4 separate regions of the Homo sapiens genome follow, and regions 1, 2 and 4 are each linked to region 3. The links are contacts of gene promoters, found by promoter capture Hi-C in blood cells and fetal thymus (Javierre and others, 2016). All regions are on one chromosome and are shown on one strand. The core of a region is centred on a gene start or on the middle of the fragment in contact, and the rest is flanking DNA. Distances in the headings are between cores, read along the strand shown.

Evidence for each region. The method cuts DNA at HindIII sites, captures the fragments that hold promoters and counts their contacts. A CHiCAGO score of 5 or more calls a contact.
Region 1: a fragment that was not itself captured here is called in contact with the fragment with the promoter of EIF2AK2 in region 3 in 1 of 17 cell types (total CD8 T cells); the score reaches 5.1 in total CD8 T cells.
Region 2: a contact is called between the fragment with the promoter of ARHGEF33 here and the fragment with the promoter of EIF2AK2 in region 3, in 1 of 17 cell types (monocytes). The highest score is 6.5, in monocytes.
Region 4: a fragment that was not itself captured here is called in contact with the fragment with the promoter of EIF2AK2 in region 3 in 1 of 17 cell types (total B cells); the score reaches 5.3 in total B cells.

The regions. Positions count from the first base shown.
Region 1 is chr2:38,573,122-38,575,821 of GRCh38, reverse strand. It overlaps HNRNPLL (heterogeneous nuclear ribonucleoprotein L like), which reads left to right. Exons shown (of 13, transcript NM_138394.4): 8 at 2,395-2,612. Among named protein-coding and RNA genes, the nearest start is that of HNRNPLL, 28 kb to the left of the region's middle. The HindIII fragment of the contact is 1,725 bases long and covers 429-2,153 here.
Region 2 is chr2:38,888,619-38,891,318 of GRCh38, reverse strand. It overlaps ARHGEF33 (Rho guanine nucleotide exchange factor 33), which reads right to left and starts at 1,444. Exons shown (of 18, transcript NM_001145451.5): 1 at 1,333-1,444. The HindIII fragment of the contact is 7,511 bases long and covers 1-2,700 here.
Region 3 is chr2:37,155,583-37,158,340 of GRCh38, reverse strand. EIF2AK2 (eukaryotic translation initiation factor 2 alpha kinase 2) reads left to right here and starts at 1,361. Exons shown (of 17, transcript NM_001135651.3): 1 at 1,361-1,433. RefSeq lists silencers at 1,062-1,251, 1,452-1,571 and an enhancer at 1,302-1,431. The HindIII fragment of the contact is 2,417 bases long and covers 1-2,191 here.
Region 4 is chr2:38,277,123-38,279,822 of GRCh38, reverse strand. No RefSeq gene overlaps it. Among named protein-coding and RNA genes, the nearest start is that of ATL2, 99 kb to the left of the region's middle. RefSeq lists enhancers at 805-1,788, 1,789-2,700. The HindIII fragment of the contact is 2,705 bases long and covers 1-2,659 here.

The sequences.
Region 1 (2,700 bases), core at 42-2,541, 1.4 Mb before region 3:
GCTAGTGATATTGAGCCTTTTTACAAATATTGCAAATCACAAATGTATCCCTTCAGATCAGCGCTTCAGCAAAACAGGTTTACTTGCATTTTGGGATCACCTTATAGATGACCTTTCCTTTTCCTATGTGACGACTATAAGAAAGGGAATAGAAAGAGTTAATTATGGTTCAGGACCCATAGATTCCATCAGATTAAGTTTATTCATTGGTTTATTATAGCAGTATGAAATCTATGTGAATCATCACAATTCTTTACCTCTTTTAATTTGGGAAGCCCAGACTTAATGATATGAACTGGTAGAAGCTTTCATAGTTGAACCATGGCAGAAATTGATACATAGATTTATTTGCTGTAAGCTCAAGAAGAGTTTGTGTATTAATTTGTAGCATCTTTGGATATGGTTTGTAGACGAAAGATTTTAAAGCTTGAAAGATGAAAAATGCCTTCAAGATGTTAATATACCATTTATGTAGCATTTTTCCATGTCAGTTTTTTAAATATTTGAAGCATTAGTTTTTTAAACACCCAGACTTTCTATTATCAATTTAGTATAGAAAACTTTTAAAAGACGTCTGATTTTTCTTATCTTAAATAATATAGGTAATACTTTAAGTAGTATAGATAAGATAATTTAATAATGATGGCTCAAAGTCATAATTATAAACATCAGTTATTCTTGTGGACTGATTTTGGTTGTTACTTAGGGCAGTAGATCTCAGAGGTTTTGGACTTTAGCCACTATACATAGAGTAAAAGTTTCCACTGCCTGTCTACCATGTGTCTTTCTACTTCCATGAAAAAGAAAATTTAGTGTGATGATAGTGAAATGTCATTACTGTACAAGCAAATGGTAGGTGGCGGGGAGGCAGTATATTATGTATATGTACTTTTGCAATAGGAATAAGAATAATTGATATTTGAATCTTGGTGTGTGTATGAGAGTCTAAATTAGAGGCTAAAATAATTACTAAACAGCCTAAAAACTAATTACTAAACAGTCGCTCATATGGATTGTTTTGTTAAACTACCAATTGCCAATAAAAGGAGTAGTTGAAATCCATGACCAATTTAAGGAGACACTGATGATACATTGATAAAGTATTCCTCCCTAAAATTGCAGAAATTCACACCGTGTTTGTGTGTGCTTGGTGGTGGTGTTACTGTGTTGTTATGAATGGCAGCTGTTAGAATACCAAAAATTGGAGTCCACCATAAGCTCTAATAGTATGTTATGAATACCAAAATTTAGTAGTTCTTAGTAACTCACTTAGTAGATAGATGACAGTTGTCCCTTAGTCCTATATACAAGTGCAACTCAGTGGCATTACATACTCTTCTTGAGAAATAGAGAAAGGACTTGGGTTTTTGGATTGGTTTTGCACATCAGGGGGACCTTTGCATGTACCCTAGATGTTGCTTCTGTTATTATTAGGAGCATCTAAGATGTGTAGGGTTTCTGTTTCTAAGCTGCATGTCTCCATCTTAGTTGCTGCTTTTGAGTTCCTCTGCCTTTCTTCTTATTGCTGTAAAATGTGCCCTGTGTCTACTTTGAGTGTCAGTTTCTCCACCCTCATTTCTTTTCATTCTACACTCTAGCTTTATTTTTTGTTAGATCTGTTGTGGATGGGAAAAACAGATAAAGTTGTTTAAAGCTACTCTAAAGTTAGCAAGTTGATTCTTAATGAGGATTCTCAATGTAAGAGACATAGATTTGAGTGTGTTTTTCTGCTGAAATAGTTTTAGATACTCAGGCATTATTTCCTTCTGGGTTCTTGATACTGTTTCAAAAAAATGGAAGTTGTAGAGTAATAAGACACCTGTGTGTAGTTGAGTTATTAACTAAATCTAGGGTTTTAGTTTCCTAAATTAGAATTAGGGGAATAAGATACCAACCTGAAAGTACATAGTAAAATATATTCAAGGAAACAACTTTTCAGTGGAACTGAAGAGGTTCTTTTTGTTATATCTGTGTAGAGATAGCTTCCCAGATTTCACTGTACATGTAATATTATTACTCCTCCAAAAGACATTGGCAGGAGGTTTATTTTTTAAATTTGAGGTATAATTTATATACAGTAGCCCCAGACTTTACATTCATTTTCTTAACCCCCCATAGTCTTGTTAAACTATAATTTTTTAAAAATGTAAGCTTATAGCCTGGTGTATGCAGGTATAGGTCAATATATATTGTATCTGGTGCAAATGAATACAGATTTTATTAATTTTCCTCAGGTTATACTGAAATATTCATACATTTGAGTTTTCTTTGTACATCAAACTAGCTAATATTAAGAGTTTATTTTTTGTGTGTGGTGCAGTATATCTACTAAAGTATTTACAAACAACTATGTGTATATGTTAACTAATTTATTTATTTTGATCATTTTTATAGGATCCCATGGTCCATTATTGCCTTTACCAAGTCGTTACAGAATGGGCTCTCGAGATACACCTGAACTTGTTGCTTATCCATTACCACAGGCTTCTTCCTCTTACATGCATGGAGGAAATCCCTCTGGTTCAGTTGTAATGGTTAGTGGATTACATCAACTAAAAATGAATTGTTCAAGAGTCTTCAACCTGTTCTGCTTATATGGAAATATTGAGAAGGTAAGTTTCTCTTTATATTGGTTTCTTTTGCTAGGATATTCAGTGGTAACTCTGAAAAGGCTGCAAATATGTGTCTTCTCCTTGTATC
Region 2 (2,700 bases), core at 195-2,694, 1.7 Mb before region 3:
TACTGGCCTGCTATGTTGAAGTACACCCTTATACACAGAGAAAAGGGAAGGTAAATAAAGGGAATTAAGAAAAAGTTAACAATAAGGCCGAGCATGGTGGCTCACACCTGTAATCCCAGCACTTTGGGAGGCTGAAGTGGGAGGACTGCTTGAGATCAGGAGTTCAAGACCAACCTGAGCAACATGACGAAACCCCATCTCTACAAAAAATACAAAAATTAGCCGGGTGTGGTGGTGTGCACCTGTGGTCTCAGTTACCTGTGGGGGCTGAGGTGGGAGGATTGCTTGAGCCCAGGTGACAAAGTGAGACCTTGTCTAAAAAAAGAAAAGAAAAAAGAAAAAAAAAAAAACCAATAGTATGGTCATCTTGTTTCAAAAGCCTCTGAGTTTTCAAATGAGTTTAGATTGCATTTCCAGAGCCCATGGTTATGAAAAATGTAGACATTAATTAATTCAGTTTGTGAAAAATGTTTAGAATAAATGTGCATCAAAAACTTTTTTCTCTAGGATACATTTCTGATCATTATGTTGAATCCTTCAGAAGTAGCCTTCAATGAAATAGCTATTCCATTTACAGCAATATGATTTTGTATTAAAAGGGGCTATTAAAAATATAAAAGGGTGATATAGAGATTTCTACATATTCAGAATACTATTTCAGCATATAAAAACTCACATAATTCCAATACTAATTATAATAGAACGCTATTCTCACTTAAGACAATGTTTAAGTGAAACTCAGTTCTTCTCATTACACACCAAAGCCCCATGAAGTGTTTAGAATTAGGTTTCACCAATAAAGCCCCCATGTAATTAATCAGTACACATTTTCAATCAGGATATGTTTTTTGTTCTGTACATAGGGGAGTGAATGCTGAAGATTCCCCTATTCTTTTTCTGTGTTAGAAAGGAATAAACCAATCTCCCTCCATCCCTAATCTTTTTCATTCTTTAATTATTCTTAATCCCAAAGAGGCATGTCCATGTCAGATTTACGCTGTCTAGCATCCTTTCTTTAAGACTGCTCTCAAAATTTAACTCATCTTCAACTATATTTATTAATATGCAGAACAACTTCAGTCTCCAGTTTATCGATAACCTGCAAAGCGCAGTTAAGACATAATATAAAAATTAAGCAAGGAAATAAATGTTTTACAAATTGTTATAACTCTTAAATAAAAGTTATTTCTTTGAATGCCTACCTCAAATAAATGTTAGCATATATTGGATTTAAATTAGTACACCACGTGGTAAGGATTGATGGGTTTTCATCTCTTATAAAATTGTTTCCCCTTTCAGTGCCCCTTAAAGCATATAAAAGCGCATACTTACCCCATGTTGCCTGCGGTGGTTATATCATCCTCAGATCAAGGCTTATCTGGGTTCTGAATTAACTTAAAGGTTATAAAAAGAAGCAGTAGAGAGGCTTGACTTCCCCTGAAACGAGACCGTAGTATGCTAACCAGGCTTTTAAATGAGGAAAACTAGTGTCTCTTCTAATTATATAAGCTCCAGGTCAAATTCTAGCATCAACTAATCAAATAACTGAACTGCATTTAGTTTCAATGAGTAAAAAGGAAGAAACCCATTTAGGAGGAATATCTTTGGTATACTAGAAAATTGAAAAGTTGTACTTTGAAAAGTTATTAACATAGCAATACAAGTTAAATATTTTAAGAGTAAAATATATATCTTGCTGCCTTAAATAAATTGAAAAAAATTAGGGAAAATTTATTTTGCAGCAAAGCAGATACTTTTCTATATTTTCCAGAAGTTTTTGAATTTAAATTATATGTCCTGGTCCCTGAAAACATCTTCTCACCTTATCTTAACTTGTCCAGTATTTGTCTCTTCATGAATTTCCATATAATAATAATATTTAATTCTAAAGCCATGCCAGCTAATGTTTAGCAACATATACAAAAATGTCCAATTCTTAAAATGTGTCTTTGAAAACTTACAAATAGGGTCTTTCAAAATTAGCCATAAAGCTATTATTATGAGAAACTAACAAAAATGCCATTTTTATTTTAACATTTTAGAAGACATTGTAACCCAAATTTGTGCCAGTACAGCAAAAAATAAAAATATACATCTTTTGGCAATAACATATTGAGAAATACAAATATTCACAAGATTTTGAATAGAGAAATATGACAAAGAAGTTATCTATTGTGTACACTATTTTTTGTCAGTTTTAGAATATAGAGTTTCAGCAAAAACATTCAGGTCTTTATTGTAATTTTTTAAATGTAGTTGACATATACTGCTCTGGTAATTTTTAAATTATCTTATGTAAAAAGTAAAGAAGTTTTCTGGACATAGAATATATGACAACACACAGATCTACTTTTTAAGAAATTGAGACATAATTTACACATCATACATAAAATTTGTCCCTGTTAAATGAACAATTCAGTGGTTTTTAGTACATTTTCAAGACTGTGCAACCATCACCACTGTCTAATTCTAGAAACCTCATGCCTCCCAATTTCTTCCTCCCCTGGCAACCACTAATCTATTTTCTGTCCCTAAGGATTTGCCTATTCAGAGCATTTCACATAAATGGAATCATATAATATGTGGCCGTTTGTGACTGGTTCCTTTCACTTAGTACAATGTTTGTTTGTTTGTTGTTTTTGAGATGAAGTTTTGCTCTGTCACCCATCCTGGAGTGCAGTGGCATGATCTTGGTTCACT
Region 3 (2,758 bases), core at 112-2,611:
AGGGGACTTAAGCTATGCCCAGGACCAGAGCTACAAGGAAAGTGTAGATTTTAGTTGTTGATACCCTGCAATGTGGGGTTGTTGGGGGATGGAGAAGGGAGGCTGGAGAGGATGCCTGCCTAGGTGTAATTTTTTTTTTTTTTTTTTGAATTGGAGTCCCACTCTGTCACCCAGGCTGGAGTGTAGTGGCATGATCTCAGCTCACTACAATCTCTGCCTCCCAGGTTCAAGCAATTCTCCCTGCCTCAGCCTCTGGAGTAGCTGGGATTACAGGTGCCTGCCACCACGCCCAGCTAATTTTTGTGTTTTTTAGTAGAGACGGGGTTTTGCCATGTTGGCCAGGCTGGTCCTGAACTCCTGACCTCAGGTGATCCGCCCGTCTCAGCCTCCCAAATTTCTGGGATTACAGGCATGAGCCACCGCGCCGGCCTAGGCATAATATTTAATGTATATTTGAGGTCTGTCTTTGGACCACCTTCCTCTCTTATCCCAGCTAAGATACTGAGAGTACAAACTCCTGGTTATAATTCTAACTCCGCTGCTTACTACCTGTGTTAATCCAAATTCTCTGTGCCTCAATACTCATTAGTCACTGTGCCAATGAACTCTGGAACTCTGTGTGACTCTGGGAGTGTGTCGCAGTCCATCAGGTGAGTAGAATTTCTATAAATCGAGGACTACTGGTGTTGGACTATGGTAGGAAGCTCCCTGGGGTACTGTAGGAAGCAGGTGTCTCTATTTAGCAGCAGGACTGGCCCACAGGTGCTTTTACAGCGGCTGGCAAGTGTCTGCTCATGAATGAATGGATGGGTGGGAGCGGAGTGAAGGAGATTACGCCCCCAGGCCTCTGATCCCCAGGCTTGTAAAGGTGAGGGGGCCGCGGTGTGGCAAGAGGGAAAGAGTGCTTTGGTGTTTACAGGCCCCGACTTGAACTGAATCCTGGCTTTGCCACTTACGAGCGGCAGGACCCCTGGGTGAGTTCATTTACTCAGTTTCCTCTATTGTAGAATGGAGCTGGTAAGATCCATCTTCCCAACCCCACCCCAAATATTTGTGTTGAGAGTAAGTGGAACCCTTGATTCGAGAACCTAGTGCGGCCAGCGGACTAGGCCAGCGGAGAACCCTAGGAGCCCCGGGGGCGGGGGATGGGGGTGCAGGGTCCTGGCCGTGCAGGGGCAGCACGTGGGTGCCAAGCCCGCCTGCCGGTGCCAAGCCCGCCCGCCGGTGCCAAGCCCGCCCGCCAGTGCCTCTCGCGCGCACTCTGGATCCAGCGCCAATTTACCCCAATCCCGTAGCAGACGAGGGCTTGTGCGAGAGGGGGCCGGGCGGCTGCAGGGAAGGCGGAGTCCAAGGGGAAAACGAAACTGAGAACCAGCTCTCCCGAAGCCGCGGGTCTCCGGCCGGCGGCGGCGGCGGCGGCGGCGGCGGCGCAGGTGAGCAGGGCAGGGGGCAGCCGAGGGAGCGCGGGGAGCGGGGGCCGGGGGGCCACGTACGAGGGGCTGCAGGCCCAGCCGGGGCGGGACTCGCCAATCCTGCGTCCCCAGCTCAGGACGCGGACGCTGATCCGAAGCCCCTGGCCCCGGCTGGGTCAGCACTGGGAGAGCAGGCCCAGGTCCGCAGCCCGGGTGTGGGGCCCTCCCCAAATCCAGGGAAAGGATCGTGGAGCGGGGTGGGGACTGAAAGCCATTTCCTTCCCGTGAAGAATTTTTATCAGTGCAAGTAACAAATATTTCCCAGGCAGCAGTTGTGGGGCGGGGTCTAGTGGAAGACGAATAGGCCTAGTGGCTTGACACATGGAAAATACGGAGGCCTGAAATACTCATAGACTGGCTGAACAATCTTTGGCTAAAAATCTCTTCCGTGGAGAGTTGCAGTAGTTTCCCAATTGCCTGGCCGCAGTTCCTGTTCCCACTCCGTATCCTCACCCCTGAACCTCCACCCCCTACCTCTTCTCCACACCTCAGCATCTGGAATGTTCCTTTAAGTAAGAACCAGACTCTCCCCTGCTCCGACCTTCCCCGTAGCTTTCCTGTCTCATCAGAATCCTATAAACATTTATTAAGGCTCACAGGCAAGGCCCCTCGCACCCCCTACTCCGGCCACGCTGGCTTCCTTGCTGTTCCTGGTGCACAGCCAAGCATCCTCCAGCCTCTAGGCCTTTGCACTGCTTGTTTCTTCTTTCTGGAAAGCTTCTTCCCCAGATAACTGCATGGGGAAATCCCTCCCTTATCCTGCACTGCTTCCCATGCCAGCTTATCAGAGCAGCCTTCCTCAAACAACCTGCCTATACAAGAAACCCCGCTCTGCCCTTGCTGTTCCCCCTTCCACTACTTCGGTTGTCAACATAGTAGTTATCACCTGGTGACATTTTCTTTCTTTTCTTTTCTTTTTTTTTTTTTTTGAGACAGATTCTCACTCTGTCGCCAGGCTGGAATGCAGTGGCACGATCTGGGCTCACTGCAACCTCTGCCTCTCAGGTTCAAGCGATTTTCCTTCCTCAGCCTCCCAGGTAGCTGGGACTACAGGTGCCCGCCAGCACAGCCAACTAATTTTTTTATTTTTAGTAGAGACAGGGTTTCACCGTGTTGGCCAGGCTGTATGTAGTCTGCTGGAAAGGAAGTGGAGGCATAGCCAAAATAATTTCTGGGCATTAGTAAGATGGACAAATATTATTTTTTAGTGATTATGATGGAGGTTTCTTCCAGATGAGTGAATAAGATGTAGAATCTGCTCCCCAAAGAGCTCACTAATTAGTTTA
Region 4 (2,700 bases), core at 58-2,557, 1.1 Mb before region 3:
TTGTAATTGGCCTCATGGGATAAATGGATATAATTATAGGTTTAGGTCCAGTAGAAATGACATGAGGAAAATTAGCATATCATTAAGGTAGCTATTACAGAGTCTTTAAGCAAGGTGGGGCTGGGTGCGGTGCCTCCTGCCTGGATTCCCAGCACTTTGGGAGGCCGAGGTGGGCGGATCACTTGAGGCCAAGAGTTTGAAACCAACCTGGCCACTGCACCCCAGCCTGGGCGACAGAGAGAGGCCCTGTCTCAAAAAAAAAAGAAAAAAAAAAGCAAGGTGGGATCAACTTTATCAAACAGAAGAAAAGCTGCTTCTCTCTCCAGAGCATCTCAGGGCATGCTCAGTGCTCCATCTGTCTCTACTCATTCACTTCCCCCAGTGTGAAATGCTCACGTTCTGTGTAGGTGATTCATATCTATGTCTCCCAAGGCTCAGCTTCTTCATGCCTGAGAGGTCAGGCCCATTTGATATTTCCCTTGTGTGGAGTCCTCTAGCCATTGTCTATGTCACATCCGTTGCTACTTACCTATATTCCCTTTAGTATTGCCCCACACATGCAAATTGTGTTGACTCCTCAGGTAAGCCTAGGCTGCTCCAACGAAGGTGCATAGATAGGGCCAGGCAACCCTCATCTCATTGTGCCTTGCTTTATTGTTCTTTGCATATATCACGCTTTTTTTTAAAATGGAAAATTTGTGGCAACCCCGCCTCAAGCAAGTCTATTGGTATCATGCTTCCAACAACATGTGCTCAGTCTGTGCCTCTGTTTCATTTTGGTAATTCTTGCAGTATTTCAAACATCTTCTTTATTATTATATCAGTTATGATCATCTCTGGTCAGTGATATTTGATGTTACTATTGTAATTGGGGCACTACAAACTGTGCCCAAAGAAGATGACAAACTTAATTGATACATGTTGTGTGTGTTCCGAATGTTCCAACCACTGGCCTTCCCCCATCACTCTCCCTCTCCTCAGGCTTCCCTTTTCCCTGAGACACAACAACATTGAAATTAGGCCAATTAATAACTCTACGATGACCTCTAAGTGTTCAAGTGATGAAGGGGTGGCCTGCCCCTCCACACCTGTGGGTGCTTCTTGTCAGGTGGACGAGAGACTTGAGAAAAGAAAGAGACACAGAGACAAAGTATAGAGAAAGAAAAGTGGGTCGAGGGGACCGGCGCTCAGCATACGGAGGACCCACACCAGCACCAGTCTGTGAGTTCCCTTAGTATTTATTGATCATTATCGGGCGTTTCTCGGAGAAGGGGATGTCGCAGGACAATAGGGTAATAGTGGAGAGAGGGTCAGCAGGAAAACATGTGAACACATATCTCTGCATCATAAACAAGGTAAAGAAAAAAGTGCTGTGCTTTTGATGTGCGTATACATAAACATCTCAATGCCTTAAAGAGCAGTTTTGCTGCCAGCATGTCCCACCTCCAGCCTTAAGGCGGTTTTCTCGTATCTCAGTAGATGGAATATACAATCGGGTTTTACACCAAGACATTCCATTGCCCAGGGATGAGCAGGAGACAGATGCCTTCCCCTTATCTCAACTGCAAAGAGGCCTTCCTCTTTTACTAATCCTCCTCAGCACAGACCCTTTATGGGTGTCGGGTGTCGGGCTGGGGGACGGTCAGGTCTTTCCCTTCTCATGAGGCCATATTTCAGACTATCGCACGGGGAGAAACCTTGGACAATACCTGGTTTTCCTAGGCAGAGGTCCCTGCGGCCTTCTGCAGTGTATTGTGTCCCTGGGTACTTGAGAATAGGGAGTGGTGATGACTTTTAACAAGCATGCTGCCTTCAAGCATTTGTTTAACAAAGCACATCCCGCAGAGCCCTTAATCCATTAAACCTTGAGTTGACACAGCACATATTTCTGTGAGCACAGGGTTGGGAGTAGGGTTACAGATTAACAGCATCTCAAGGCAGAAGAATTTTTCTTAGTACTGAACAAAATGGAGTCTCTTAGGTCGACTTCTTTCTACATAGACACAGTAACAGTCTGATCTCTCTTTCTTTTCCCCACAAAGTGAGAGGAAGTGTCACATGTCTCTCACTTTAAATCACAAGCTACACATGATTAAGCCTAGTGAGGAAGGCATGTTGAAAGCTAAGATATGTCAAAAAGTAGGTCTCTTGCACCAGTTAGCCAAGTTGTGAATGCAAAGGAAAAAGTTGTTGAAGGAAAGAAAAAGTGCTACTCTAGTGAAGATACAAATGATAAGAAAGCAAAACAGCCTTACTGCTGATTCGAAGAAAGTTTGAGTAGTCTCGATAGAAGATTAAACCAGTCACAACATTTTCTTAAGCCAAAGCCTAATCCAGAGCAAGGCCCCAACTCTCTTCAATTCTGTGAAAGCTAAGAGGTGAAGAAGCTGTAGAAGAAAAGTTTGAAGCTAGCAGAAGTTGGTTGATGATATTTAAGGAAAGAAGCCATCTCTATTACATAACGTAAAATCAAGGTGATGCAGTAAGTGCTAAAGTAGAAGTGGCAACAGGTTATCCAAGAGATCTAGGAAAGATCACTGATGAAGGTGGCTACACTAAATGACAGATTTTCAGTGTAGATGAGATAGTCTTATATTGGAAGAAGATGCCATCTAGGACTTTCATAGCTAGAGAGAAATGAATCCCTGGTTTCAAAGCTTTAAAGGACAGGCTGACTTTCTCGTTGGGGTCTAATGCAGC